4 separate regions of the Homo sapiens genome follow, and all the other regions are linked to region 1. Evidence: promoter capture Hi-C in 16 types of primary human blood cells and fetal thymus (Javierre and others, 2016). All regions are on one chromosome and are shown on one strand. The core of a region is centred on a gene start or on the middle of the fragment in contact, and the rest is flanking DNA. Distances in the headings are between cores, read along the strand shown. Region 1 holds the start of HBS1L (HBS1 like translational GTPase). Region 2 overlaps AHI1 (Abelson helper integration site 1). Region 3 overlaps AHI1 (Abelson helper integration site 1). Region 4 overlaps AHI1 (Abelson helper integration site 1).

Region 1 (5,782 bases), core at 944-3,443:
TTGTCAATGCTGAAGTTGACCCTAAAGTGCCACAACATATAAAGATGAAGAGAATTCTTTCCTGCAATCTTCATAGTTTGTTTCCTCAATCAACAAAATTATGAAATATTTACCACATGTAAAGAACATTGTGCCAGCTACTTAAAGTATGGATTTTGCCTTCCTGAGACTTTTAAATCAGTGACTGAGGCAGTCATGTAAAGTATTACATAAATTACAGAGAAAAACAAAGTGGGAGTTAAGTAGCGGAACCAGTAGGTTTTAGAACACAAACTCTCTCTAATGAGGTTATATTTCTTAACAGAATTTTTAAATTATTATTCTGAGAATTCAAGAGAAAGCCTAACTGGGAAGAAGAGAAATAAACTGGACCTTAATGAGTACAACTTTTATAAACAAGAAAAGGGGATGAACCTCCTTAATGTTACAGGAACAGCTTGGTTATGATGTCACCAATTGTTTCAAAGAAGCATGACAACATGACAACCTAACCTCAAGAAGCCAAGGTGCTCCCTGAGGCCAACCACCTCTCCTCCATGAAGCATTCCTTAACGTAGAAATCCTGCTTAAATTCCCCCCAATCCATTCTGAATTAAGTGTTCTCATCTGTGTATCCCTCCCATAGCGTTTTCTCAGTACCTTTTGTAGCATTTTTCATACTCTAATAATCTGTAACTCGTATAATCTTCTCCTTTTAGACCACCCTCAAATATCTTACTTTCAGTCCTCAAAGCTTAGAACAGTACTCTAAGCACTAACTTAATGGTGGTTGAGGAAATGATAAACAACTATTAAAGAAATGAATGAATAATAAATAGGCCTATTCATGTACTTTATATTTGCAAAAATCTCTCTCAATCTAAAGTCATTTCTTAGGTGACAATGGTCCACATGCAATACCATCCACTGCAATATTTATTTAAAAGGGCCTCCATTCTAAAGTAACCACCAGAAAATTCACATGTTCTAGACGGACTGAGGTCACAGGTTCCAAATGGAGAACAGGGTGTTAGCTGCCCTCACTCTAGTTAAAGCATACTGATGTTCTATAATAATCTACTGGGGTGCCAATGACAATCACCAACATATTAAGCACTACATGTTCTGCACTTCGTAAAGCATAGTTCTTTATTCTTCTCCTGCATTAGTTCATTTTTGTTTATATTTTTAGTTTATGTGATGCTTGGTGATGCCTATAGTTATCTACTGCATGAAGAGGGATGTGCTCCTCCTAAAAATAATTCTAACTCCTGTTAACTCCTACAGAACATTCATACAGACATTTTTATTTCATTTTTTAATATCAAAAAGTCCTTTCCTATACACTCTTTCCTCTAGTACTGCCGTTTATTTACATTTCAAAATACATTTATATCAAGCATTACCAGCCAAGAACTAAGTATAAACTTCAAGATCCATCTGATCGACTCATTCTTTGGGCCTTTTTAACATGTGTCTTTTCTACCGTCTCCTAAGTTTCCACTTTGAAATTCGTTGAAAAATAAATTAGCGCAAACTGATTCTGCACTAGGTATGTATGGACATACACAAAAGGTTTACCATGTAAATCTAACACAGGTACACGTCCGTTGAATGTATTAAGTCAATCTGTGTTTTACAAATAAGCAACGTTTCATGGACATTTCTCAAAGGGGATCTGGGAGAGAGGAGCTAGAAGCAGGCACGTTAGTGCCCAACATGGGAGGAAACAATGGAAGAGGTGATAATGCTTACGTGCCTAAATATCACCGGATCTCAACCTCACCAATATCCTACCCATATGACGCTATGCAGCACCTCCCCCTCCCCAAATAAAATCAACCCCAGAGGGCAGAAATCATGACTTAAAAACGACGGCATTTGAAAGCACTAGAAGGCCTGTTATATTCCCCAACTGGGGCTCTCCCAATCCCGACAGGGCAACACTGACGAGAAACTCACAGATTGAAGTGGATGCCAACGGGCTAGGATCCCAGCTGTAGCCGGGAAAAGAACGTCCCGGCATGACCCTGCCACCTACCTTCATCGTAGTTATAGCCTCGAACATTCCGATGCCGGGCCATGACGGCGGAGAGGGCGTTTGCCACAGCCCCTTAACTCCTTCCAAAACACTCCGCTTAGATACTGATAAGGCGCCAACTGCAGCCTGGAGAACCCCTATGCGCCATCTTGGCTTCCCGCAGGCCTCTGCGCCGAGCGCCTGCGCAAGCGCGACGTCTTAGCTGTGCACCGCGCGACGGCAATGCCTCAGGGTCACTGTCCGCCTCCCTGAGGGCGCATGCGCACTGCTGTGCATGGCGGGACGAGGGGAGGGAGCGTTTGGGAGTGGCCCCACCCAAAGGTTGGGCGACGGAGGGGGATGGGGAAATCCGCCGCCTAGAATTGACTGGTTTGGACTAAATGTTGCAAGCGGGGAACCTTGAGCTACCTACGCCAGCGTTCTGGATTATTTTCCAAATTTGGTTCCTGATAATCTGAGAAAGCTATGCGCTCAGTAAGAGCAGGGACCTTGTTTTATCAAACTTTGATCTTTCATTAAGCACACAGTGGGCATTCAACAAACTTGTGTAAACTTGGAATCAGATTTAGCCCAGGCCGGTGCGGTGGCTCCTTCCTGTAATCCCAGCACTTTGGGAAGCCTAGGAGGGCGGATCGCTTGAACTCAGGTGTTCGAGACCAGCCTGAGCAACATAGCGAGGCTCCGTCTCTACAAAAAATACAAACACTAGCCGGCCCTGTGGTGCAGACCTGTAGTCCCAGCTACTGAAGAGGCTGAGGTGGGAGGATCCCCTGAGCCCAGGCGGTCGAGGCTGCAGTGAGCTGAGATCGGGCCTCTCCATTCCAGCCCGGGCGACAAAGTGAGTGAGACCTTATCTCAAAAAAAAAAAGAGTCCAAGCTTTAGAGAAGGAAATAAGGCTATTTTTAAACGGGTATATATTATTAAATTGAGACCCTGGCTATATTAGGTCACCCTGCATTCATATAATTTACGACTTCATGTATTCACTCCGTTCGGCATTACTATCCCTAGTAAACAGCGATTTGCCCTTAGCTATGTAAACGATTTTAGCTATATAGACGATATTTATCAGCATCATAAAGAAGGATTCACTGAACATTCATTGAAGACATAATTGTGTGTAACATTGCGAGTATTAAATATAGCTTTTTAGACATAGCACTGGCCTTAGGTGGTAATGCTGAATGTTGTTGATGCATGAATCTATAACCTGCTATTAAATGTCCTCATTTCTCAGAACATAAAGTTAATAATGCTATATAAGAAACCAACCTCATTATACTGAACACCACTTCAGTTTTAGCTTGTGTTTTTGAAATGATGATACTTCACATCAAAGGCAAATGTTGAGTTCTAGAGATAATTAAAAGCTTCCTCAGCTTTTTGCTATGCACAATAGAAAGAAATAAGAGTAATCCAAATTTAGTTTATATTTGTAAGTGGCTTGGAACGTAATTTATTCATGCATTTGAATGTGTTTGACTACAAAAATAGTTGTTTAATGTGGCTCCAAAATAAAAGTTTACAGAAAAATAGAGATAGTTGCTAATGTTACATGGCTTAAGTGTTTTTATTATTTTACACCCTTAGGTAATTTTTATTTTGCAGCCTGTTTCTTTGTAAAAAGGAGATAGAGACACTAACTCGCGAGCTGTGAATAATGTATCCGTATAAGAGGATTTATCACAGATCATAGTAGGTGCTTAAAAATATTGTGTTATTGGCCGGGCGCGGTGGCTGACTCCTGTGATCCCAACACTTTGGGAGGCTGAAGCAGGCGGATCATGAGGTCAAGAGATCAAGACCATTCTGGCCAACATGGTGAAACTCCCTGTCTACTAAAAATACAAAAATTAGCTAGGCATGGTGGCGCGTGCCTATAGTCCTAGCTACTCGGGAGGCTGAGGCAGGAGAATCGCTTGAACCCGGGAGGCAGAGGTTGCAGTGAGCTAAGATTGTGCCACTGCACTCCAGCCTGGAGACAGAGTGAGACTCTGCACCCCCCCAAAAAAATTGTGTTATTAAAATACAAATGGCAGCTTCCACTCCACTGTAATTGTCAATTACAAGCTTAACTACAACTCACTGAGGTATGAAGTGAATGAGTTATAGACCACATAAGCAAAGTACTACAGGAACAATGAATAAGAAAACGTTACTTCTGTCAGATAATATATAATTTGCCCTTAGGTCGTCAATAACGCACTCCTTTAAAACTCTAAATATTGCACAGCATCTACTGCATCTCAAACAGTAGAGCCTCAATGGCAAAGCCTTCACTGACTTCTTCAGAAAAAGTTAGGATTGTTCCACTCCCCTCAGGACTCTGTAAGGTGTGGGCAGGGCACCGTGGCTCACGCCTGTAATCCCAGCACTTTGGGACGCTGAGGCGGGTGGATCACCTGAGGTCAAGAGTTCCAGACCAGCCTGGCCACCATGGTGAAACCCCCATCTTCCACTAAAAATAAAAAAAAATTAGCTGTGCGTGGTGGTGGGTGACTGTAATCCCAGCTACTCGGGAGGCTGAGGCAGGAGAATCGCTTGAACCCAGGAGGCAGGAGTTGCAGTGAGCTGAGATCGTGCCACTGCACTCCAGCCTGGACAACAAGGGCAAAACTCCGACTCAAAAAATAAATGAATAAAACTCTGGTATTGTGTTTTGATGGAAAGTACTATGACTTCGGAGTACCACGAACCTGGATTTCAGTCCCAGTTTTGTTGCTGTTAACCACTTCAGATTTAATGTCTTCATCTGTAAAATCGAATATATGAAAATGTATGTCTTCTGTTTTGTGAAAAGTAAATGATATATGTAAAAACAGTAGGTGTTGCAGAATGGGTACTCAGTAAATGCCACTTCTCTACCCCTACTAATTTCAAAGCTTTATCTTTGTTTCTCCGGCACCCTAATGTCTGGCACTTTAAATGTTTGCTGAATGAATTAATGAGTAAAAGAAGAGAAATAAAATGACATTTCTCTTGCTATGGAATTGTTAATGTCATAAAAAACAATACAAATCATTTTATATTGATTTGTGAAAAAAATTATGAATGAAAGGATAACTACATTACTGAAAAAATGTTAACAACTTTATTGAGATATCATTGACAATAAACTGCACATAATGTGTAATTTTGATACATTTTGACGTATGTATACACCAGTGAAGCCATCAACCCCATCAAGATAATGAACATATCCAGACTTTCAAAATTTTCCTGAAGTACCTTTATATCCAGAATAAAAATTCCAGAATATCCCGGAATCCTTCCTGCCCGTCAAGGCCTCCTCACCATGGCCCCTCAAAATAACTGATCGTCTTTCTGTCACTATGAGTTGTTTGCATTTTTTAAAATTTTATACAGGTGAAATCATATAGTATGTGTTCTTTTTTATCTGTCTTAATTCACTCAGCATAATTATTTTGAGATTCACCTGTGTAGTTGCTTGAATCAACAGTTCATTCCTTTTTATTAGAGGAGGATTCCGCTGTGTGGATATACCACAATTTGTTTTTCCATTCACCCATTGAGAGATATTTGGTTTGTTTTCCATTTTGACGACTGTAAATAAGGCTTCTGTGAATATCTGTGTACGAATCTTCGTATAAACATAAACTAATTTTTCCTGGGTAAATACCTAGGAGTAGAATGATATGATAGGTTATCTTCAGCTTTTTAAAGAAACTGTCAAACTGTTTTCCAAAAACAGTTGTAAAGTTTTATGTTTCCACCAGCAATGTAGTTCCATTTTCTCTATT
Region 2 (5,782 bases), core at 2,458-4,957, 440 kb after region 1:
GTTTTTAATTTTCAAAATTCCTTAGAATTTTAACATAAAATGCAGCCATATCTGCATTTTATGCGCATATGTAAATCACTATTACCCAATGATCATTTACTTACTGAGATGTTTTCTTCAGACCTGACAAGTTTTTTCTTCAGTTTTTTCTTTTCACGCATTAGATCACTGTGGGTCTTAAGCAATTCTTCAAAGCGAACTTTGGTTTTTACTTTTGCTTCACTCTCAGCTACAAAAGATACAGCCATGTGATTTTGTAAATGACTCTATCATAACACACAACCTACACTACTAGGATGTTAAGAAATAAGTTCTTGTAAATATCGGCATGAGTTCTCTAGCTACATTAGAAAAACTCACCTATCTTTCCTTCTTAAAATATTTTTTATTTTGACTTTAGTGACACAACATTCACCTGTATCCCTCTGACCTTTTTGGCCACTCACTCTAAAAGTCTCCTTTGCTAAGTTAACTTTTTATTTCTGATAAACAGTAGCATCTACCACTGTTAGTTACGTGTTATGTGGCTTTAGACAAGTTACTCAAGATCTCTAAACTTCATTTTCCTTATCTGTAAAATCACAATTATCTTATGCCAAAGATCATTTTGCATGAAAAATGGCTAAGGTGTGCCTAGCCTGTAATCAGTATTCCACAAATATTAACAGGTTTTTCCTTTAAAACATGAAGAAGATAATGCTTAAGCCCCTGAAAATTTCCCAATACATTTAGGATAAAATAAGTCTTTTATATGCCCTACAGGGCTCCATACCTCCTGATCTATCTCCAGGGCTTCAAATCAAGACAAATATCCCCTTAGATGCCTATGTTCTAGCTATAATACCCTTCCTTTAGCTCCTCCGTCACAGCAAGCTCCTTCCCACATGAAGCTGTTTCTGAGGCAAGCTTCCTCTAATTCCTCACCTGGCTGGTGTTAACCTGTCTGTTTAAATGCTGCCTGTAAATAAAACACCTCCTGACAAACTCATCTAATTTTCCCTTTTCTCACATAGCAGGTTGTTCTCTTCCTTCACAGCACTCAACCCAAATGGAAATTATATAATTATTTTTATATCTATATAAAGAAACATATTTTCTGTTTCCCCCATAACTACATCCCCAGCTACTATTATGAGGTCTGACATAGTGTACATAGTCATTATGTTTTAAATTAATAAATGCTGAATGAATGGGTGCTCTAGAGCAAGTGTCGGCAAACTATGGCCTGCAGGCTAGTCACTTGTTTTTGTAAAGATTTATTGAAATCAGACATACCCATTTGATTAAGAATTGTTATAACTGCTTTCATGCTTTAAAAGAGACAGAGAGACAGAGTTGAGCAGTTATAGCAGAGACTAAGCCTAAAATATTTACTAGCTAGCCCTTTTAGAAAAGATTGCCAATGCTTGTGGTGGAGTAAAACATTCAATTTTGATGATAAAGAATAAAAACTAACCCTATGTTGTAATCATTATTTACCTTGTCCATCTGAGTCCCAAACTACCATCCATTAAATACATACTAACCTTAATCACAATATTAAATAGAAAACTGAATACAAAACCAATAAGTATCTCTAAATGTAGTATATTTGGTCAATGACATCTACTGTATTCATTAATCTGTTCAAGAATCCCTTAAAATAAACCAAACTTAAAAGTAAATGTATAAAATATAAATTTTATACATAAATTTCATAGAAGTCTTACCTGTAGGCATCTCTCAGCTTTATGCAGAGGACTGAGAATGCAAAGCATTGACTCAATCAGGATCCTATCGAAACAAAGGAGATGTATTTGTAATATGGAACTTCCAAATAAAAATTATAAAACGTTCTTCACACAAGATCATGCCATTGTATGTCCACTACTTCATTAAGTTTATACCAATAAAGCTATGTTCCCTTAACCCAATCTTATGCAAATGACTTGGGTACATTTGAATCAGTTTAGGGCTCTAAAATCAAGGGAAACAAACTAGATCATATCTGAATAAAGTATTTATATATTTGAAACAAAAAAAACATTTTGAAGGCAGTGCACATCTAATGTGGTATGTTAATAAACTTTTTAAAGTGTTTTAATACATTAATGAACATTTCAACGCACTTTTAAGAAACCAAACTCCATCTCAGGATTGACTTTCCTAAGAGCATTCAATATTACATTAAAGCATGCTTGTGGGTAGCACACTCACAGTGAATTTAAATACCTCTGTGTCTGCCACTGAAAATTCTGCTACAATAGAGAAGGATAGTACAAATATTTGCACCATCTTTCTTTAATAAAACCTGGATGTGTATTACTGTGTCAGAACTACTCAAAACCATGGTTCAACTCAGTATGTATATTACTAAATTGCCCATTTTATTAAAAAAATCGGTGTATGTCTAAAATGAACATATTCTCACATTAGAACATTTAGAATGTAATATGCATGTTTTTGAGACTAAAACTGAAGAGTGTTAAAAAAAAAGCTGGTTCAGGAATTATTGATTTGTTTGTTTTTGAGATGGAGTCTCCCTTTGTCGAGTGCAGTGGTGTGATCTCGGCTCACTGCAACCTCCGCCTCCCAGGTTCAAGCGATTCTCCTGCCTCAGCCTCCCGAGTGGCTGGGATTACAGGTGTGCGCCACCACACCCAGCTAATTTTTGTATTTTTAGTAGAGACAGGGTTTCATCATGTTGGCCAGGCTGGTCTTGAACTCCTGACCTCATATGATCTGCCCGACTCAGCCTCCCAAAGTGTTGGGATTACAGGCGTGAGCCACCACACTGGGCCCAAGGCATTATTGGTTAATGCTCCAATTCCCTGGACATCCACATTCATGTTCCTCTTGCAGAAATGTCTAAGAAATTCTAAAAAGAAAGGAATGATTATGTAAACATACCTAACTATGTCAGTTAACTTAGGCAACAACTACGTGGCACCCAGTCAAAACAGACATCACTAAATCCATGGAGTAAAAATTCCTATACTTTAGTGATAGGAGCCTGTATTTACTCCTTCTAGCAGTTATAAATTTAATAAATCTAGTCTTCTACTTTCTAGTCTATATTAAATTAGAAAAGAGAAGCTGCAAAGGCAAGTGCAATGACAGCATGAGTAATTGAAACCTGAGAGCACGGAAGTAGAAAAATCATAAAACAAATAAAAATTTAATATTTATACTACTCGATGGTCATCTAATAGGCCAGGAAAAAGCTGACCTATATTATGACTATGATTCATCAAAAAAAAGCCTGCTGGGCGCCGTGGCTCATGTCTGTAATCCCAATACTTGGGAAGGATAAGGCGGGTGGATCACTTGAGGTCAGGAGTTTGTGTCCTGTCTGGCCAACATGGTAAAACCCCATCTCTACCAAAAATACAAAACTTAGTCAGGCGTGGTGGTGGGTGCCTGTAATCCCAGCTACTGGGGAGGCTGAGGCAGGAAAATCGCTTGAACCTGAAATGTGGAGGTTGCAGGGAGCCAAGACTGCACCAGTGCGCTCCAGGTGATGGAGTGAGGTAATATTTTAGAAAGATTAAATAACTAATGAAGAGGCAGGAGAAAGAATCGGAGATAATTCCCATGTTTCTAGAACTAGAATAAGTAGATTAGTAGTATCATTACACTGTAATATAATGCAGTACAGGGCAGTAGTTTAAAATCCATGTCCTAGAATTAGTTTCCATAGTCACTTGCGTGACTTTTGTTTCCTCATCTATAAAAACACCCTACCAGTGCCGACTCAAAGGGTTGTTGTAAGGGTTAAATGATTTAGAACAGTACCGTAGACAGAAGAAGCAACAATAAATGTTAGCTATAACTGTAACAGGTTGTTAGGGTGCAGTCACTGAGCTTAGTATGGGTCATGTTGAGTTGGGTATCTGAAGGGCACTGAGCAGCTACAAGCATCAGCTCCATTTTCAGATCCTTGGATCCAAATACCAGTTCTATCTGCCAGCAGATTCACCTCTATGGATATCAACTTCCTAATCTTTCACAATAATAAGAGTAAATCACTCACAGTGTTTTTATAAAGATTAAATGAGAATATGCAAATAAAATACTAGGCACAATGCCTAGCACATGGCAAGCCCTTCAAAAACAACAACTGTTATTACTGTCACGTGTGTGTGTGTTTACGTATATAATCATATTATGTTTGTTAGGCAATCTACTAATCCAGCAGGGAGACAATAGGCTGAAGATTTGGGAGTTATTTATAAATATGATAGTTCCAAGAAAATAAAAAGCCAATGAGAATCCTGTGAGCCTACAATATAAAGTAAAATCAGGGAGATAGGTGAAAAACTGGGAGATAGAAGCATTACAGAAGCAAACCCAAGTTTTAAAGGAGATGTTGCCTATATACTGTGTGGCATCAAAAGGGGCTGGAGGTTTTGAAGAAAGTCCACTGAATCTGCAAGTAGGAAGTCACGTGTGTCAAAGCTGTTTATAGAGGGGCAGAAACTTAGCAGGCTGGGGCTAAGGAATGAATGGAAGGTGACACCTGTAGAAGGGACATGTAGACAATTCTTTACAGAATTCTTCCAACTGTCTTCCCATCACCCCCAAAGGCAGTGACATGAGACAGTAACTCTGAGGGACAAAAACACTGTGGAAGGATTATGCTTTTTGTTTTAAGATTGTTTCCACGCCGCTATCACCTTTCCCTTAAAAAAAAAATCATCATCTACACAGCAACTAGTGTAATTTTCTAAAATTCAAATGTGATGGTGTCGTTTCTTCGCTTAAAATTCTTCACTAGCTCCCAATCGCACATTGAAAAAAATATCAAGTCCTTACCAGTGAGGTCCAAGGCCATTTATGAAATGTCCCCTTCACACATCCACTGTGTTCCAGACATGTGAAACTACCTGCAGGCCTTCACGTGTGCCAAGTTCTCTCTTGCTTTTGTATCATTACACACATATCCCCTCCCCTGAAAAATGTGCTTCCTCCTTTGTCTCTCTAACAAACTCCTCACTATCCTTTAAAGGCAAATGATATCTTCTCTAGAGAGCATTCTCACCTTGAAGGGCATTTAAGAACTTCTCTTCTGTGCTTCCAGGGTGCCTTAATCTTTGTAGCTCCCTCTACCTCAACCTTGAATTTTCACCCTGGTAAAATGTTCTGTAACTCCCACCAAACTGCTAGCTTTGGAGGACCAAGCCAATGCTCTCTTATAGTTATGTATCTGCCACTATGAAAGAAAAGAGAGGAGAAGAAGAGAGAAGCGAAGTGAAGAGAAGCAAAAGCAAAGCGAGTAAAAAAGACTCAGGCTTGAGCTCTAGTGTCACCACTTACTGATGTGTGGCCTTGGGCAAGCTACTTAATTTCTAATCCTTGGTTTTTCCTTGTCTGGGAATTTAAAATGGCACCTATTTTAGTACTGTAAGGAGAAGAGAAAATACCAAAAAGCAAAGTAATCAGTACATTGCAATAAAATTACTTTATGTCCATTATTATTGTATTAAAAATAAGTAAATAATTACAAATAAAATATATAAATCATATACTTATTTACTATTAACAGCTTAATACACAACTAAACTAATAAATACTAATATTATGTAATGATAACACAGCAAATACAGTACAGAAATCATCTCTAATTTTTTTTTTTTGGAGACAGAGTCTCGCTCTGTTGCCCAGGTTGGAGTGCAGTGGCACAATCTCAGCTCACTGCTGCCTCCGCCTCCTGGGTTCAAGCAATTCACCTGCCTCAGCCTCCCTGGTAGCTGGGACTACAGGTGTGGGCCATCACACCCAGCTAATTTTTGTATTTTTAGTA
Region 3 (5,782 bases), core at 1,475-3,974, 360 kb after region 1:
AAAGGCATAACAGAATTAAGGGAAATGCTAAAATAATATTTATTCACAAGCCTCTCTAAAACAACTATTTTCATATTTCTGTACCCTTCTTAATTTTTACACACACATTCTATATATCATAATGTAAATACAATTTAACATTTCTCAATTTAAATGCAAGTATTTCTTACATTTCTACAATGACGTAATTATAATTATTAAATGTTTTACAGTATCTCATTTAATGAAGCACCGTAATTTTTTTTTTACACATTCTCTTATACTGAATACAGTTGGTCCACTGTATCTGTGGCTTCCCTATCCATGAATTCAACCAACTATGGATAAAAAATATTCAGAAAAAAATAACAATACTATAAAAAATACAGTATGATAACTATTTACATAGCATTTATACTATATTAGGTATTGTAAGTAATCTACAGATGATTCCAAGTATGAGAGAAGATGTCCACAGATTATATGCAAAAACTATGACATTTTATGTAAGTGACTTTAGCATCCATAGATTTTTGGTATCCCCAGGGGTTCTGGAACCAGTCCTCTATAGATAACAAGAGATAACTCTATTTATAGTGTTCTCTGTTCTCCCTTATAGATCATGCAAGAATAATTACTTTCATAGCTAACTTTGTTTCTTAACATCATTCTTATTTTGGATTTAATTCTCTAGAGTGACGAAGATGGCTCAAAGGGTGAATGTTCTGATGATGACTGATCATGATGATGATGATAATGAGCATGGTAGCATCTGTGCTGCACTTTGTATTTTTTGGGGTGCTATCACATACATTACCTCATTTGATCATTTAAAACACATGAACTTGAAAAATATTAAATGTCTGTCTATATATACAAAGGAGAAAAAATATATAAACTCATCATTTAAAAAAGTATTTCCTTAGTTACATAATCTTGAAATGGAAAGCCTTCCTAAACATGACATGAAAGAAATAAATCTCAAAACAGGGATTCATAATATGGAATCAATGGATAAACCTTCAGGGAGTCTATGGACTACTGAAATTACTATGGAAATGTGAGTGTGTTTATATAAGCATTTCTGGAAAGCAGATTCATAATTTTTATCAGGTTATCCATCGAAGGATTACATGAGTCAGAAAAGGTTAATAATTGTCAACATTCTTATGGACCAATGAACAGATTTTGTAACATGAACATTTAAAGAGTCTTCATTAAAATAAAAAAACTTGCCAGGCACAGTGTCTCATGCCTTAATCCTGGCACTCTGGGAGGCTGAGGTGGGAGGATCACTTGAGCCTAGGAGTTTGAGACCAGCCCTGGCAAGATAATGAGACCCTGTCTCTATAAAAAATTGAAAAATTAACCGGGCAGGGTACCATGTGCCTGTAGTTTCCAGCTACTGAGGAGGCTGAGGTGGGTGGGAGGATTGCTTGAGACTGGAGGTCGAGGCTGCCACTGCATTCCAGTGAAGACTGGATGACAGAGCTAATGTGATTTTTAAATCATATTTAAGACTTAAATATATAAATAAACTACCACAACAAAAATTAAAAAGGAAATGATGTAATAGGGTTCTTCCATTTCTGACCAAAATGGAGTAGGGACTAGATTTACTCTGCTGCTTGAAACTACCAAAAAATGGACAAACTGTATAAAAGAAAAAAAAAAAACTGTCTTTGCAGACATGATTGTCTAGGTAGAGCTAAAGTGGAGTAAGGCAAGTGAGGCACACAGGCAGCAAAATTTAAGGAGGTTCTCACTCTGAGGTCCTGGCTCCATATCTGTGTAAAAATTCTAAATGGAATCTAAAAAAATAAGGCACTAGAATTGACTTTAGCAATGTTGTAGGATTGAGATCAAAACACAAAAATCATCTATATGTCTATATACAAGCAATTAAGAACCAAAAATTGAAATTAAAAAAAAAAATGCCATTTACTATGGCATAAAAAAAGTGACATACTTTGGGGAAAAAAAGGAGAAAGATGTGAAAGACCTGTATACTGAAAACTAAAAATACTGCTGAGAGAAACTGACAAAGCAATTTGTCATTGTGTTCATGGGGTGGCATACTCAATATTGGTAAGATGTAAATTCTCCCCAAATGATCTGTAGATTCAATGCAGTCCCACTCAAAATTCCAGCAGGTTATTTTTGGAGAAATTGTAAAATAAATTCTAAAATCGACATGGAAATGAATATTACCTAGAACAGCCAAAACAACTTTGAAAAAGAAAAGAATACCTGACTTCAAATCCTATAAAGCTACAGTAATCCACACAGTTTGCTACTGGCATAAAGATAAATAAACAGATCAACAGAATAGTATAGAGTGCCCAGGGTGTATAGACAAAGTATAAAGGCCATTCAGTGGAGAAAAGACAGTTTTTTCCAACAAATGGTGTTAGAATAGTTGGATATTCATATGTGAAAAAAATGAACTTTGATCCATACTTTACAACATGTACAAAAGTAACTCAAAATGAACCACAGATCTAAATGTAAAACCCAAAGCTGTAAGACTTCTAGAAAAAAACAGAGAACACCTTTGTGAGCTTGGGTTAGGCAAAGATTTCTTAGACACAACACTAAAATGCATAAAAGAACAAGCTGATAATTTGAACTTCATCAAAATCTCAAACTTCTGTTCTTTAAACTGTTAAGACAATTAGAAAACAAACCAGACTGGGGGGAAATACCTGCAAATCATATGCCTGATAAAATACTTGTATACACAAAACACAAAGAAATCTCAAAACTCAATAATCAGAAAACAAATAGGACAATTTAAAAAATGGAGAAAAGATTTGAAAAGACAATTTACTGAAGAAGCTATATGGATGACAAATAAGCATGCAAAAAAAGGTGCTCAGTATCATTAGTCATTAGGGAAAAGCAAATTAAAACCACAATAAAATAGCACTGCATGTATATTAGAATGGCTAATATTCAAAAGATTGGCCATTTCTTTTTTTAAATTTTTTTATTTATTTTTATTTTATTATTATTATACTTTAAGTTTTAGGGTACATGTGCACAATGTACAGGTTAGTTACATATGTATACATGTGCCAGGCTGGTGTGCTGCACCCATTAACTCGTCATTTAGCATTAGGTATATCCCTAATGCTATCCCTCCCCCCTCCCCCCACCCCACAACAGGCCCCAGAGTGTGATGTTCCCCTTCCTGTGTCCATGTGTTCTCACTGTTCAATTCCCATCTATGAGTGAGAACATGTGGTGTTTGGTTTTTTGTCCTTGCGATAGTTTGCTGAGAATAATGATTTCCAATCTCATCCATGTCCCTACAAAGAACATGAACTCATCATTTTTTATGGCTTCATAGTATTCCATGGTGTATATGTGCCACATTTTCTTAATCCAGTCTATCATTGTTGGACATTTGGGTTGGTTCCAAGTCTTTCCTATTGTGAATAGTGCCGCAATAAACATATGTGTGCATGTGTCTTTATAGCAGCATGATTTATAGTCCTTTGGGTATATACCCAGTAATGGGATGGCTGTGTCAAATGGTATTTCTAGTTCTAGATCCCTGAGGAATTGCCACACTGACTTCCACAATGGTTGAACTAGTTTACAGTCCCACCAACAGTGTAAAAGTGTTCCTATTTCTCCACATCCTCTCCAGCACCTGTTGTTTCCTGACTTTTTAATGATTGCCAAGATTGGCCATTTCAAAGTTGGCAAGTACACTGATATACTAATGGTGGGAATGTTAAATGTTAAACGGCACAATCACTTTAAAAAATAGTCTGGCAGCTTCTTAAGAAGTCAAACATACATCTGCAATATGATCCAGCCCTTCTGCTCCTAGAAATTTGTCAAAGAGAAATGAAGCATATGTCCATACAAAGACTTGTATGTGAATATTTGGAGCAGCTTTATTTGTAATAGCTAAAACCTGGTTACAACCCCAATGTCCATTGACAGGTGAATGGATAAACAAACTGTGGCATAGCCATACAATTAAACAACACCCAACAATATAAAGAATAAACTACTGATAAATGCTAAAACACAGATTTATCAAAGTAATTATAAGTGAAAGGAGCCAGATAAAAAAAGAGTACATGGTATATACAGTTTCACTTATATACAATTCTGGAAAATGCAAACTAATTTATAGTGGTTGCCTGGGATAAGGGTGAGGAAGGAACAGAACACAAAAGGGCACAAAGTAACTTTTGGGGATGAAATATGTTCATTATCTTGATTGAGGCAATAGTCTCCCAGGTTTATAAATGCCCAAACTTATCAGATAGTACATTTAAATAGTTCAGTTTATAATATGTCAATTATACCTCAATAAAGCCATTCACCAAAAAAAGCAAATGACAAAATTGTAATGAAAGGGGTAATTAATCTTACTATGCAGAGTTCCCATGAAATCCATTAAAAATTAATAATCGAACAGAAAAATGGGCAAAGAACCATTAAAGAAAATTCACAAAAGAACTGTGTCCAATAAAAATATATTTAACTTCACTAAAAATTAATTAGTAATAAAAATGCAAATTAGAAAGTGCCTTTTTTTTTTGCCTGTTTAACTGACCCATTGTACCTCAAGACATTATTTCCTGAGGAATGTAAGGGTAGTTAGTGTGTACTGAAGCACTATCTAAATGTTGAAAAAGATATAACAGTATAATTGTGCAACAACAGTTGTTTAAACTACGGTGTATTCATTTAATGAAAGGGAATTTAGCCACTAAAATTATGTATAGAAATGTAATTATCACAATGGAAAATTGCTCATATTATTCATTGGAAAAAATAATTTATAAAACAATATAGACAGTATATACAAAAGGACGACCACTTTTTCAAGTTATAGGCCTTGGTTTCATGAACTATGAGTCTGAGATGATGCATATAAACAATATTAGGTATTTGATCTTTATATTCATGTACTATTTCATTCAGGCACTCTAAATGAAGACCAGCTCAATAATAATTGGTGTTCTCTCCCTGCTAGTGAGTACCAAAGGATATTATCAAGGGAGAGGACCTGCTTACACTCCACCCTTTTAGTGATGTGCATTCCTCAATACTAATTACTGTTTTTAAACAGAAGTGTAGCCATTTCTCTGTAGATTGTTGTGGATTTGACTATTATTTTTCATTACACATTTTGAACTTTTCTCCAAAACAATCAGAACACTTATTACCCTCAACTATTCAAAGACTGCTTACAGAACAAGAGAAACTTTAAAGCTGTAAAAGAAAATAAGTGCTCCATGAACTGGAATTTGGAATGTTTAACATTAGTAGGTGGGTTTCAGGAATAAATAAATAAACAAATGCATATCATGTTTCATGATCTTTGTCTTATTTGCTTTTTAAAATTGTCCCTTCAACATTTAATTGTGTTTTGCTGCTATGAATGGAAAATAAAACTGGGTTAATTATTTAATGACATTTTTTAACTCCCTATATTTTCTCTGAGATTGTGTACCTACCAACCATGATTTCATTTTAATATGAGTGAGCGAACATGCATAGAAATGGCCCAGAAGCACATACACCTACGTAAGTAACAGTTACATAGGTTAGTAAGATTTCAGTATTTTTCATTTTACTCTTTTTGTCAAACTATTTTCTAAGTATTATAATATGCTAAACATGTATTATTTTTCTTTCTTAAAAATGACATTTTTAACTGGAAAAAAAAGTAACAAAAAGCAGAGCCTAATTATTTATCTCTTTATTTTTCCAGGTATTAATATGCCTTTCGGAAGGATTAAAATGGCCCAAATGGAAGCGGATAACACAAATA
Region 4 (4,223 bases), core at 1,470-3,969, 270 kb after region 1:
TTTACTCATTAGTTATCAAAAGAACTATGATTGGAAAATTTTAATCATCTGGATTTCAGAAATGCAGAAGGTGTCATTTTCACTTATTATCTGGTCAGACAGATGCTTATTTTATTTTATCTCAATACACATTTACCAGGGACCTGCTAAATGCCAGGATATCTGCTAGGAACTGTTGGAGAACATATGGAGATCATCAAAAGATAGTCTTCATTAGCAAGGAGCTTACAGTCTGGTCAGAGAAAGACATGTTTACAAGTAACCATAAAATAAATGTGACATTATTTGAAAGTGAAATAATTACAAAGACAAACTCTGATGTGGGGATGGAAAATGCTTAATGGAAGAAGTGGTAGGTGTATCAGACTCTGAAGACTAGGTAGGATTTTACCAGTCAGAGGTACGCAGAAAAACTAATTTGGGGGCAGGGCGCGGTGGCTCATGCCAACACTTTGGGAGGCCGAGGTGGGCAGATCCCTTGAGGCCAAGAGTTTGAGACCAGCCTGGCCAACATGGTGAAACCCCATCCCTACCCAAAAATATAATAATTAGCTGGGCATGGTGGCGTGCACCTGTAGTCCCAGCTTTGGGAGGCTGAGGCATGGGAATTGTTTGAACCTGAGAGGTGGAGGTTGCAGTGAGCCAAGACAGCGCCACTGCACTCCAGCCTGGGAGACAGGGCGAGACTCTGTCTCAAAAAAAAGGAAATGATAATTTGGGAAGACGATATGAAATCAATAAGCATGGAGTTAGGACTATATATGATATTGAATCTATATACAGTGTTGAATTTAAGATTCTTACAATCCAATATTCTATATAATCTATTGAATCTACATAGGGTATTGAATCTAAAGAGCTATGTGCAAATTTTAAAGGGTTAAAACAAAAATATATTTTGGTTAAGAACATCTCTGAACTGAAAGAAATTGCTGAGATATACTTGATCAAAATTGTACAACTAAGATTATGAGATATACTAATTGTCTTTGTATGTGGAGTGATTTTATTATTGGGTTTATCTCATATTTTGAGGGTGTTAGATGTGATGGGGGAAGCTGATCATGTTGTTCTTTACAGTGCCTTAAGATACAAAGAGAGTAAGTTCCTTGTAACAGTGGGAGTACGAACTTCTTTTATTGTGTTGTTCTCTTAGAGGACAGGCTCTCTTAGAGTATCTGCTTGTATACTTCCTTAGATTCTGCTCTTATACTCCCTTAGATAATTCACTTTGCATAGTTGGCTTCAGATAAAGATCAAGGACAATTCTTCCTACTATTTTTAGACTAGAATATGCTACTGACAGTCATTTTTTTCTCTAATGTTAAAACTGGGCAATTGAGTTTTTTGTTAAATTCAGGTAAAAAAAGGATAAAAGGGAAAGGGAAATAACCCCTAATGAAGTGTGAGAGTTCAATCATTACAGTCGCAGATTTTTCTAAGTTTTTTTTTTTTGTTTGTTCTGGTCTATACAAGGCTTTTTAAAGCAGTGACTGATGCCAAAAGAAAACATAAATTATTCTGGGATACAATAAGGAATTATGGCAGTTGAAAGATGGTCATCATTGAGACAAAGAATTTATTTCTGTACGTAGCCATCAACTCATCACTGCAATATGCTTCAGAGGTCTGGCTTTGATCATCATGGAAGAAGAACAAATTTTATTAGCTTTTAAAAAAAATTTATCTTTTGTGGAGATGGAGTCTTGTTATATTGCCCAGGCTGGTCTCAAACTCTTGGCGTCAAGTGATCCTCCCTCTTCAGCCTCCTGAAGTGTTGGGATTACAGGTATGAGCTGCTGCATCTGGCCTCATTAGCTTTTTAATTCACTGTAGCTCAAATATCTATATCCTCTCAAGATCTGCAAGCCTAAGAGGTTATTTTTGTAAACTACATTCTCAAATTAAAGCACTTAATCCCACCCTGCCTAGAGATACACAAGGGAGAAAATTTAAAAAATATTTCCATTTGTACATGAAAAGAGTAATGGATTGTAATATTTCGTTAAAATGAGGCATACTCCAGAGTGACTACCATTGTGCCAGCAGCTCTTGATTTAAAAAGCTTGATTTAAACAGAAGCTACTCCTGTTTAACCTCAGCTGTTGACCCTGTGGGAGACCCAACAATGAGAAGAAGGAACTTGGCTATTTTAGATGATCTGGAAGTTAGAAGTGCTGAGCTTATGGAACTTATATGCTGTCTTATACCTACATGGGAATTAACTTGCCCTAAAATTTCTTCCTTTCATACGGCCTATGTTTTTTCCATTACACAACCTCTTCTAAACACAAAAATATACCTCTAACAGAGTTTAAGAGTTATGTGTCAAAATCAGCTGGGCATGGTAGCATGCCCCTGTAGTTCCAGCTACTCAGGAGGCTGAGATGGGAGGACTGCTTGAGCCCGGGAGGTCAAGGCTTTAGTGAGCCGTGACTGCATCACTGCACTCTAGCCTGGGTGACAAAGTGAGGCCCCGTCTCAGAAAAAAAAGAAAGAAAGAAAAAAAAAGTTATATGTCATTCACTACTTACAAGAAGGTAACTAAAACAGCTACACAGAAGACATTAAGAATTTTATGAGAGTGAGAAGTGGTACAATTTTTGAGACACATAGAACTTTTTAGGGGAGGAGTCTGCTGACTGTGGCAGATAAACTGAAGAAGGGAGCTGCAATGGGACTTAGGGCACTTGAGAGACTGGGGAGGGGAGCAATGGGAAGGACCTGGCTGAAGACAAGGTCGTGGGAAGGTGCCAAAGACAGATAATTTTATCTAGGCTTAGCCCAGCATCCGGTAATCACGAAGGAAATTCTTCCATTCCTTCATCTCTTTGGCTGTCAAAATTGAAAACTTAGGTTAGAATCAATAATATTTTTGTTTAGTCGTAGTTTTGGGTTAAACAGTTTCATGGACTAGCCTGAAAACCAATTATTATTTATAATAATTATTTCTTTGCAGAAACAAAAGACTTAAATATTCAAAACACAGATTGTTCTCAATTTCAAGGCTGCCTATACTACAACTTTTTTTTCTTTTTTTTGAGACAGAGTTTTGCTCTGTTGCTGGGCTGGAGTGCAGTGGCACGATCTTGGCTCACTGCAACCTCTGCCTCCCGGGTTCACGCGATTCTCCCGCCTCAGCCTCCCAAGTAGCTGGGATTATAGGTGCCCACCACCACGCCTGGCTCATTTTTTGTATTGTTAGTAGAGACAAGGTTTTGCCATGTTGGCCAGGCTGGTCTCGAACTCCTGACCTAAAGTGATCTGCCTGCCTCGGCCTCCCAAAGTGCTGGGATTACAGGCGTGAGCCACAGTGCCTGGCCCGCCTATACTACATTTTGAATCAGAACCAGAATTTTTGTGCTTACAGAAGAAAAGCTTACAGATAATATCATTTAATTCCTTCATTTTACAGAAGGTAACTGGGGCGTATGAGTGTAAGATGTTGAGCTGAGGTTAGAAGTCAGTTTTCCTGACCCCTGAGTGTTGTGCTTTTCCTAGCATGCTATCAAGTTAATTGTGGATAGAATGCATTCTTCTCAAGAAGCACTACTGTACTTCTCCCCTTTAATGACAGTTTTAAGTTATTATTATTTTTGTTTTCAGGCTCTCTGCGTTCGTTCTGTTTTCACCTCTCAAGGCCTAGTGGTGAATCTACAGCTTTCAGAAACTCATATTTAGATTTTCTTCCCTAGCTCTTTTTTTTTTCATTTTAAGCTATTATTTAATGAACAAAAACCATTATTAAAACACGAAGTAGAAATTAAAATACAAGAAAGGTTCATACAGTCTTGTCACATCACATGGTAAGTTCTAGGCTTTGTCAACACGTGCACATAACTTTTAAATAATTGTCATTTATCAACTTTGTGCTTACATATTTTCAGCTCTGGCTCATTTTTTCCCCCATAAATGAGGGCTAAATTTACTTGAGAATGAAACAACTTATTGTAGTTTTGTTTTCACAGGTAACCAGATAGGACTGAGGTATACAAAGTAAAAGAATGCAGTTGGGGAACTAGAAGCTCTTAAGATGCCAGTCAGCTGAGGAGGCACTGTGGCTAGAGAAGAACTGACAGAACTGTGCATGAGGCAGGTGGCAGGGTCAAATGAGTTGAATAAGAAAGCTGGTAGCTAGAGGGGCAGGGTCCCCGAGGATAAGAAGTCCATGAAACAAACATTCCAATCTCAGAATGGAGCAGCTTCTAATGTACTAGTGCCTC

What was found. The method cuts DNA at HindIII sites, captures the fragments that hold promoters and counts their contacts. A CHiCAGO score of 5 or more calls a contact.
Region 2: a contact is called between a fragment that was not itself captured here and the fragment with the promoter of HBS1L in region 1, in 1 of 17 cell types (fetal thymus). The highest score is 5.7, in fetal thymus.
Region 3: a contact is called between a fragment that was not itself captured here and the fragment with the promoter of HBS1L in region 1, in 3 of 17 cell types (erythroblasts, total CD4 T cells and M2 macrophages). The highest score is 8.2, in erythroblasts.
Region 4: a fragment that was not itself captured here is called in contact with the fragment with the promoter of HBS1L in region 1 in 1 of 17 cell types (erythroblasts); the score reaches 5.1 in erythroblasts.

The regions. Positions count from the first base shown.
Region 1 is chr6:135,052,629-135,058,410 of GRCh38, forward strand. It overlaps HBS1L (HBS1 like translational GTPase), which reads right to left and starts at 2,194. Exons shown (of 18, transcript NM_006620.4): 1 at 2,021-2,194. The coding sequence starts at 2,063. LOC124901405 (a long non-coding RNA gene) reads left to right here and starts at 2,265. Exons shown (of 2, transcript XR_007059775.1): 1 at 2,265-2,858. LOC124901406 (a long non-coding RNA gene) reads right to left here. Exons shown (of 2, transcript XR_007059776.1): 2 at 5,090-5,661. RefSeq lists an enhancer at 2,353-2,402. The HindIII fragment of the contact is 2,164 bases long and covers 732-2,895 here.
Region 2 is chr6:135,490,519-135,496,300 of GRCh38, forward strand. It overlaps AHI1 (Abelson helper integration site 1), which reads right to left. Exons shown (of 29, transcript NM_001134831.2): 3 at 5,296-5,380; 4 at 1,710-1,773; 5 at 105-229. The coding sequence starts at 1,719. Among named protein-coding and RNA genes, the nearest start is that of AHI1, 4.3 kb to the right of the region's middle. The HindIII fragment of the contact is 5,606 bases long and covers 905-5,782 here.
Region 3 is chr6:135,411,836-135,417,617 of GRCh38, forward strand. The region is part of intron 20 of AHI1 (Abelson helper integration site 1); the gene reads right to left. Among named protein-coding and RNA genes, the nearest start is that of AHI1, 83 kb to the right of the region's middle. The HindIII fragment of the contact is 7,802 bases long and covers 1-5,782 here.
Region 4 is chr6:135,318,780-135,323,002 of GRCh38, forward strand. The region is part of intron 25 of AHI1 (Abelson helper integration site 1); the gene reads right to left. Among named protein-coding and RNA genes, the nearest start is that of MIR548A2, 82 kb to the left of the region's middle. RefSeq lists an enhancer at 4,067-4,206. The HindIII fragment of the contact is 1,313 bases long and covers 2,064-3,376 here.